Regions from separate parts of the Homo sapiens genome. Here region 2 is linked to region 1. Evidence: promoter capture Hi-C in 16 types of primary human blood cells and fetal thymus (Javierre and others, 2016). All regions are on one chromosome and are shown on one strand. The core of a region is centred on a gene start or on the middle of the fragment in contact, and the rest is flanking DNA. Distances in the headings are between cores, read along the strand shown. Region 1 holds the start of KLF11 (KLF transcription factor 11). Region 2 overlaps NOL10 (nucleolar protein 10).

What was found. The method cuts DNA at HindIII sites, captures the fragments that hold promoters and counts their contacts. A CHiCAGO score of 5 or more calls a contact.
Region 2: a fragment that was not itself captured here is called in contact with the fragment with the promoter of KLF11 in region 1 in 1 of 17 cell types (total B cells); the score reaches 6.2 in total B cells.

The regions. Positions count from the first base shown.
Region 1 is chr2:10,040,595-10,044,799 of GRCh38, forward strand. It overlaps KLF11 (KLF transcription factor 11), which reads left to right and starts at 2,956. Exons shown (of 4, transcript NM_003597.5): 1 at 2,956-3,164. The coding sequence starts at 3,123. It overlaps KLF11-DT (KLF11 divergent transcript), which reads right to left and starts at 2,807. Exons shown (of 3, transcript NR_135558.1): 1 at 2,716-2,807; 2 at 2,039-2,410; 3 at 959-1,057. RefSeq lists a promoter at 2,214-3,113 and silencers at 2,800-3,029, 3,320-3,369, 3,490-3,539, 3,580-3,649. The HindIII fragment of the contact is 6,616 bases long and covers 1-3,984 here.
Region 2 is chr2:10,664,701-10,668,905 of GRCh38, forward strand. It overlaps NOL10 (nucleolar protein 10), which reads right to left. Exons shown (of 21, transcript NM_024894.4): 7 at 3,958-4,023; 8 at 2,518-2,578. Among named protein-coding and RNA genes, the nearest start is that of NOL10, 23 kb to the right of the region's middle. The HindIII fragment of the contact is 2,682 bases long and covers 1,077-3,758 here.

The DNA.
Region 1 (4,205 bases), core at 1,706-4,205:
GCGGTCTCATGCAGTTTTGCAAAGTCAAAGCAGACGAGGGTTGGCATGTTCCACGCAGAAGGAATGCTGTCTAGAAACAGAAGAGAGTGGCGTGACCTTGAGAGTACAGGGTTCTGTATTGGGTCAGTGGGGGCAGGAAGGCAGCAGGGAAAGCAATTTGGGAAACTGGTCAGAAATGATGCAGGAAGTGCTGGCTGGAGCCTGGCTACAAAGACTCATGGGTTCCTGGCCATGGAGCCTGAAGTCAGTCCTATAACTGTTTGGATTCCAACTGACGGCTTGAATACAGGTTCAGCTCCACCTCTGCTTCCAGAAGATCATTCTGGCAGTGAGGTGAGGGCAGATTGTAGGGCGTCTGGCTGGAGGGAGGGAGACCTGTTGGGAGGCAGTGGCAACAATTCAGGTGAGCAGGTGGTGGCCAGGACAAGGGCTGGCGTGGGTGACATAAGAGTTTGAGAGGAACTGAGAAGGAAGAAGGGCATGTAATTGGCGGAAGACAGCAACTGTGCGAAAGGGAGGAGGTAAAGGTGACGCTCAGGTTTCTAGATCAAGGAACAGGGTCTCCAGTTGTACCCTTCACGGAGGTGAGAAATCCAGATTTGGCTGGAATCCGAGTTCAGTTTTTTGTTTGTTTTTTTGAGACTGAGTCTCTGACGCCCAGGCTGGAGTGCAGTGGTGCGATCTCGGCTCACTGCAATCTCTGCCTCCTGGGTTCAAGCGATTCTCCTGCCTTAGTCTCCTGAGTAGCTGGGATTACAGGCGCCTGCCACCGTGCCAGGCTAATTTTTGTATTTTTAGAAGAGACGGGGTTTCATCATGTTGGCCGGGCTGGTCTTCAACTCCTGACCTCAGGTGATCCGCCCGCCTCGGCCTCCCAAAGTGCTGGGATTACAGGCGTGAGCCACCGCGCCCGGCCCTGAGTTCAGTTTTTTTAAGGACACAATTAGAGGTGCTCACGGGATGTTCAAGCAGGGAGGCTGGTGGATACCTTCGATTCGCTCGTTCACCTACGTGGACTTATTAAACAGCCAGGCTCCCTGGCCTTGGGAGAGTCCTTCTGGTGGGGAGACAGATGATAAATAACTGAAGTAATGGAAAAGGGGCAGTTCAAGAAAAGTGTTGTGGAGGAAGAAAACAAGAAAGCCCGCCAGAAGGGGACTGGAGGTCGGCCCCGAGGGTGTGTCCGCTAGAGGGGGCCTCTCCAGGTGGACTGCGGGTGAGAGTAAAGGGGGCATGTGGGGGAAAAGCATTCTAGGGAACAGCAAGTGCGAGGACCTGGAGACGGCAGAGGGGCTGGTGGGACAGGCGCCCAAGAGGAGGCCCAGGCTGTCCCTCCGGGGCGTGGGGAGAGGCATGGGGCTGGGTCCCTGCAGGAGCTCACAAGCCACAGTGGGGAGCAGAAGCGTTACGCTGAGTACAGTGGGAGCCACTGAAAGGGTTAAAGACCCCTGGGGGTGCTGAGTGGGAAGAGGCTCTGGGAGCTGGAGTGGACGCAGGGAGACCAGTTATAAGGCGAATGCAGGAGTCCAGGCAAAAGAGAATATTCCAGTGTGTATCTTAAGACTTAACTTTTTACACACAGAACACCCTGCGCCCCTCTCAGAGCCTCCGGGGTCTTCATGCGAGCAGTTTATCACGGTTCTTTCGTCTTAAACCCTCTTACTATTTCAGCAAACACCCTCTCCTCAGCCTGGTCAACCCCTCTGCCCAACCCGAGTGGGCCCCGAAGGAACAAGTGGGGACCAGAGTCCTGCTCATGTGAGTGGTGGGGCCCAGCCCGTTCCCCTAAGACCAGAATTCTCTCGCTCAGAGCAAAGCCCCGGGGTGCCGGGATTCTCTCTCTGCTCCCGCTCCCTGGATGGAGCTTTTAAAAAAGGAGGATTCCTCACTGCGGCCTCTGCCCCTTGCACTGAGCGCCAACCCGCATCACAGCTCAGCAAAGGCGCGCGCAGTGAACAGACGGAGGAGGGGTGGCTCCTCGCTGAGCTGAAGGCTGCGGCGACGAAAATAAACAGCATGGTTCCTGCTCTCCACGAACCTGGCGCTGCAGACGTGGGCAAACCACACCAAGAGACGCGAGCAACCGAAATATAGGGAGAAAAAAAAAGGTGCCCTGGACAGCGGGCTAGATGTCTCCTGCAGGCTCGAGGACTTCCCGGAGGGGGCGGCGTTTTCTCGGGGCCTGGGAAGAATGGGCGGGTTTCAGCGGGCGCCTTCTGGGTGACTGCCCGTTTCGGCTTCCCCTGACCCCGTAACAGAGCGGAAGAGGCCCAGAGACGCCAGAGGAGGGGCGTCAGCGGGACACTCAGGCCAATAAGCTCTGACTCCCGCTGTCTGCAAAAATGACCGGATGCAGGAATGTCACCTAGAACCGGCCAGCTTTCCGACCTCTCCGGTCAAGGACGCATTCCTAAGAGACGAAGGGAGAATGACAGAAGTTAAAAACAACCAAACAAAAGCCAGGTTGAGGCCTCTAGGTGGGTCTCCGCTACCGATGGATTCAGCCGGTGGGGCTGCAGGAGGTTCCTATAAGCGTGGTCCCCTCTCCCCGCACCGAGTCCGGCCCCGGCCCTGGGATTTCCCCAGCCGCCGCCCCGCCCCCTCCGCCCCGCCGCCCCCGCCGCCCCGCCGCCCCCTCCGCCCCCGCCGCCCCCTCCGCCCCCGCCGCCCCCTCCGCCCCGCTTGCCCCTGGCGCCGCTGCGACCTTTCCCTTACTTTCCAGGGCCTCAGGCCCCGCCCCTCGCTCCGACCAAAACACGTGCCGCGTCCCGCCCTGCCCGATCACGCCGCGGCCAGGCTCCGATCACGCGGCCCCCCGCGGCGCTCATTGGCCGGCCGGGCACGAATTGGCTGGTGGTGGCCGGCCCCGCCCCGGCAGGGGCGCGGTGTATTTTGGTTCGCCTCCGCGCCCCGCCCCGCCAGCCGCTCCCTCCGCGGCCGCCCCGCCCCTCCCGCGCCGCGAGGGCCGCGCCGGGGCAGAGCCGCGCGGGCGGGCGAGGCGCGTGCCGGCCGCAGGAGCTCCGGGTTGCCGCCGCCGCCGCCGCCCGCAGCCCACGTGCGGCCGCTGCTGCGCCCGAGCTCACGCCCCGCGGCCGCTTTGTTGCTCCCGGCCGGCCTGCACGATGCACACGCCGGACTTCGCAGGCCCAGACGACGCGCGCGCAGTGAGTGGTGGGGCTGCCGCGGCGGGACTACTCGTCTGAGCGAGGGGCGAGGCGGGGGAAGTGGTGCGGCACTCGCGCGCCTGTAAATGCGGGAGGTGGGGCGTGCAGGGCTTCGCTGCGGCCGCGCCGGTAGGGGCCTGGGCGGGCTCCGGAGCCGGGCGGGGCGGCGGCCGCGACGGGCGCGCCCGGGTCGGCGGGGGCGAGGAGGGGGCGTGTTCCCCGCGCAGCTTTGTCTTGCGCTTCCTGGGCGGCCCCGCCCCGCTGGCCCCGCGGCTATTTCCAGCCATGACGTCACCCCGGTCCTGTGAGCCGGACGGCCGTTGGGCGGGGGAGCGGCTGGCGGGAACGCGGCACGCGGCCTTGGGGGCGGGGCAAGAGCTGCTGGCGGGAACGCGGCACGGTTTTGGGGGCGGGGCACGCGGCCGTCGGGCGGGTTAAGAGCGGCTAGCGGTAGTGCCGCTCGGGCCTGGGGGCGGGCAAGGTCTAGGGGCCGGGGCAACGACGGGAGGCGGGAGCGCCGCACTGCCTTGGAGGCGGGGCAACGCTTGGAGGCGGGAACGCGGCACGCGAGCGTTGGGGGCCCTAAGCGTCGCGACCTGGGGGCTTCGGGGAGGTAGCCGTGGACGTGGGCAGAGCGCGGGCCTCGTGGTGTGCGGGCACTGTGGGCCGGGCGAGCCCCTTCCCGCCCGTGTGGTGAGTCGGCCTCGGCGCCCGGTTCTGTGACATCACAGGGGGTTTAGTGGCGCAGCCTGCGGGACAGAGGCCGGGGATTTGAGGTGGCCTCGTCTTGTTTGATCTCGGGGAACCTCGGCAGACGGAAAGCTTTGATGCTTTGGTGCATGGCAGATAGAGAGGAAACGTGTATCTTCGTACATTTAAAGTTTCCTTTCCTTTTTTTTTTTTTTGATAGGGAGTCTCGCTCTATCGCCCAGGCCGGAGTGCAGTGGGCGCGCGATCTCGGCCCACTGTAACCTCCCTGGGAGGGAGGGGTATTACTCTTCTCAGAGTAATATCACCCTCTCGCCCCCGGCTTAGTTTTCT
Region 2 (4,205 bases), core at 1,168-3,667, 620 kb after region 1:
AATTTTTGGATTTTTGGTAGAGAAGAGGTGTCGCCATGTTGCCCAGGCTGGTCTCGAACTCCTGGACTCAAGCGTTCCACCCACTCGCACTTCCAAAGAGCTGGGATGACGGACGTGAGCCACCACACCCAGCCAACATTTGTGTTTTTAAAAAAATGCTTGTGCAAACAGAAAAACCTGAGAGGATACACAGCAAATTATTAACAGTATTTACCTAAGGAAACAGGAATAGGACAGGGTGGAAGGGAATTACACTTTTCACTTTGTGTTCTTGTCTATCATTTGATTTTGTAATGATAAAACAAAAACATAAACAAAGATGTTTTAAGATTGTTTAATATATTAACTACCTTAAAAGCAAACCCTTCAATATACTTAGGAGGTTCTGACCTCATTAATCTTTTAATATTATTACAAGTAGGTATGTTGCAAAGATGAATAATCGAAGGGAAACCTTTTTAAACTACAGCAGGTAATTCCAAATGGTCTAGTCTTCTATGTCTTCTCAAAATGAGTTAATAAATTTTATGGACATAAAAAAGAAAAGTTGCATTCCAAAAACACAAAATGGGTATGCAGATAACTTCCAGTGTAAATACAAAATGTATTTTTAAGCACACTGATTTTCTATTACCTAAATTTGAATATTTCCATTGCCAAACCTCCCCTCTTAGGCACTTCAAAAAGCACAAAATGCAAACATTTAGTTTGACAATATTATGATAACTAAGAACTAAAGAAGAAACTAAAATCTGAGATGTAATATGAAAATCAATGTAAAATGAATTTGTTAAGCCTGATCTGACTATGCTTATGAAACTGCAAGCTGCTAATAATCAAGGAATTTCCGGAAGCCCAGTCTTTGAGCATCCCTACCTCCTATCCCTTCAACATGTCCTAGGCTGGTCTTAAACCAGCTGCTGGAAGAGCAGCACGTTCTAATACATAACTTCTCTTAGCACATTGCCTGGTGTCTAGCCTAGACTGCCCTGTAAGGACCCTAAAAACTATTTTCTCAGGGAAACTCTTGTAAAACTTCCCCTTGGTAATCTCAAGTAACCTGACTACCAAGAGAAAGCTTGATTTAGACATAACAGTATTCAAACACATTCAACATAGTTTTACATAATATCTGTCAGATCAAACTTAGTGTCCCATTTCAAATATTAATCTTTTTTTAAAATACAACTTCAACTTCTTTGTTAGACTCTGGGGGTACGTGCAGGTTTGTTACACTGGTATATTGCATAATGCTGAGGTTTGCAGTGTGACTGATCCCGTCACCCAGGCAGTGAGCATGGTAGCCAACAGTTAGTTTTCAACCCTTGCCTCCCTCCCTCCCTTCCCCATCCAGTAATCCCCAGTGTCTAGTGTTGTCATCTTTATGGTCATGAGTACCCAACGGTTAGCTCCCACTCATAAGTGAGAACACGCAGTATTTGGTTTTCTGTTCCTGTCTTAATTCACTTAGGGTAACAGCCTCCAGCTGCATCCATGTTGCTGCAAAGAACATTCTTTCATTCTTTTTTGTGGCTGCATTAATCTCTCAACATAAAAATAATTTGAGTAAAAAAAAAACCATTAATTCCATCCATATGAAACTGGTTTAATAAATTATAGTACAAACAACAGAATGCTATCTGTAAACTATCATTTTTTTTTTTGAGACGGAGTCTCGCTCTGTCACCCAGGCGGGAGTGCAGTGGCCCAATCTTCATTCACTGCAACCTCCGCCCCCCTGCCTCAGCCTCCCAAATAGCTGGGATTACAGGTGTGTGCCACCACACCCGGCTAATTTTTGTATTTTTAGTAGAGACGGTGTTTCGCCATATTGGCCAGGCTGGTCTCAAACTCCTGATCTCAAGTAATCTGCCTGCCTTGGCCTCCCAAAGTGCTAGGATTAGTGAGCCACTGCGCCTGGCCTGTAAATTTTTTTAAAATTAGTTTAGCATCGTAAGTAATTATAAGTACCAATAAGATGTATATTATATACTGTTATGTCTAAAAAAAAAAAAGCAAATGGAGAACTACAGTAGAATACAATTTCAGTTTGGTAAACCACTTTAAAAAATATGTATGTACACATATGCATATTGGCATATAGCACTTAGGAAAAAAAATTTGAAAGGATACTACTCCAAACCATTCAAGTGTTACCTCTGGGGTGTAGGATTTGGTGACTGGAAGGTATAAAAGGGCACTTTTTAAAATTACATGCTTCTGACATATTTGCATTTTTTAAAACTATGAGTATTTATCATTATTTTAAGTGAAAAATGCAAATCTACAAAAAACTATTGGTAAGTGTGAAGGACATTGATTCAAAGATATTATCATTTAAAAGAAAAATGTTGTGTACATTCATCTCAATATTTACTGAATGTTACTCTACAGGATGTTCAAGCTATCACCTCATTATCATCCTGCTCTAAGGAATCAAGCAACTCAGTCTTTAAATAAAAATTCCAATCAAATATAAAACAAATATTCTAAAAAATAAAGTCAACATATGCTTACCTCTATGGTTCCTGTGGCAAACAAGCCATGCACTGAATTTATGTCACAAACATTATTCTCCCTAACACAGGAAAGCAGTAAGAAAGAATGAATTAGTTAGCACCTACTTTAGTGGGGAAGGAATATTAAATAAATAAACAGTCAACCCAAATTCTGAGTAGAAAGAAGACACACAGATTCTCTCTTACTAATCTGCAAATGGAAAACACCAAGGTATGAAAGGGTTAAGTGCTTGGCTCAGTCACTGGAGTTTCTGATCCCCAGGGTGACACTCTACCTGCTAGGTGACAAACAAGGAGGGACTTCCTTCTGAAATACTATTCCACTACCATGAGAAGAAAGGGTCACTCTATTTTTCAAGGTATTTTCTTCCAAGGCAGGTAACATTCTTAAAAGAACACACGCTATCACCATGACAATCCTGAGCCTTGACAGGCTTGTCCTGGGTACATCATTCTAAGTCTCATTTTCTTTCTCTGTAAAATGGATATTTCACCTACCTCGGGGGGTTGTTATGGGGATTAAATGAAAAAGACTGCAAAGCGTTCAGCAGTATCTGGGGTACAGAGGACACTCAATATAATGCATTTGTGAAGTTACTACTACAAGTTTTTTTTTTAATAAAAATAAAAGCATTTCTACCCAATGTGAAATAAAAAAAAATTAGAGTTTATTTGGTTCTTATCACAACATGTTCACCTAACCTTTAAAAATCCTCTCAAAGCAATACGAGAAATTCAGCAAGCTCTTCATATACACAATGAGAAGTAATCCAGCTTCCACCCTTGACTAGTTGTGTGGCCTTGGGCAAACTACTTACCTCTCTGAGCCTCAGCTGCCCTATCTGTAAAATGGTACTTACCACAAAAATCTGTTCTAAGTTTAAAATGAGATAATAAAGGTAAAATGACTGAATAACACCTGGCACAAAGTGCTTTCCTACTGTGTTTATCACTATTATTTGTTGTGATGATGATGATGATGGATTCATTCCTAAAAATTTTTGCTGCATAGTACATATGTGTAGACTATAATGTATGATAAAAGGAAACCTTTAAAAACCTTAAATGTCCGCTAGCAGAGCATAAAAATTTAAAAATGGCACTCCAAATTAATTCAAAAGTTCTCCACAGGAGAAAATATCACAAAACAAAACCATGAATGTAAATTTAAAGAACACTACAAGTAATAATAATAAACTGAGTATTTTTAACTGACTTAAAGTTGAGTAGATGAAAAAAAGCTTTCATTTAATTTTTAAAGTAATCACCAGATCTTTCAGTGAATTTTTTGTCTGAGAATAAATTCAACAGTACTTTTTAACTAAGTTGCTGGGAGTTTTGCTTAATTGCAATAGTTTATGTTACTTGTTAACAAACTGAGCATCTGGCTCCACCTCCTGGTCAAAATGTATATAGCAGAATTACTAAAACTACTCACGCAGCATCAGTTTGTAGAGGATTCAGGTATCGTCCTTGTTCTAAGTTTAACCTATAAACTTCAGAACTGTAAAGTAATAAAGAAAGTTAAAAACCTGCTAAACTACAATGAAACTTTAAGTAAATATAAATTTTATAAATATATATATTACTCATAAGCCACCACTTCCTTTTGTAACACTGATACAAAAACGTATTCTAAATCTGAAAAATATCCACTTTATGAATTTGTTCATGTATAAAAGTGAT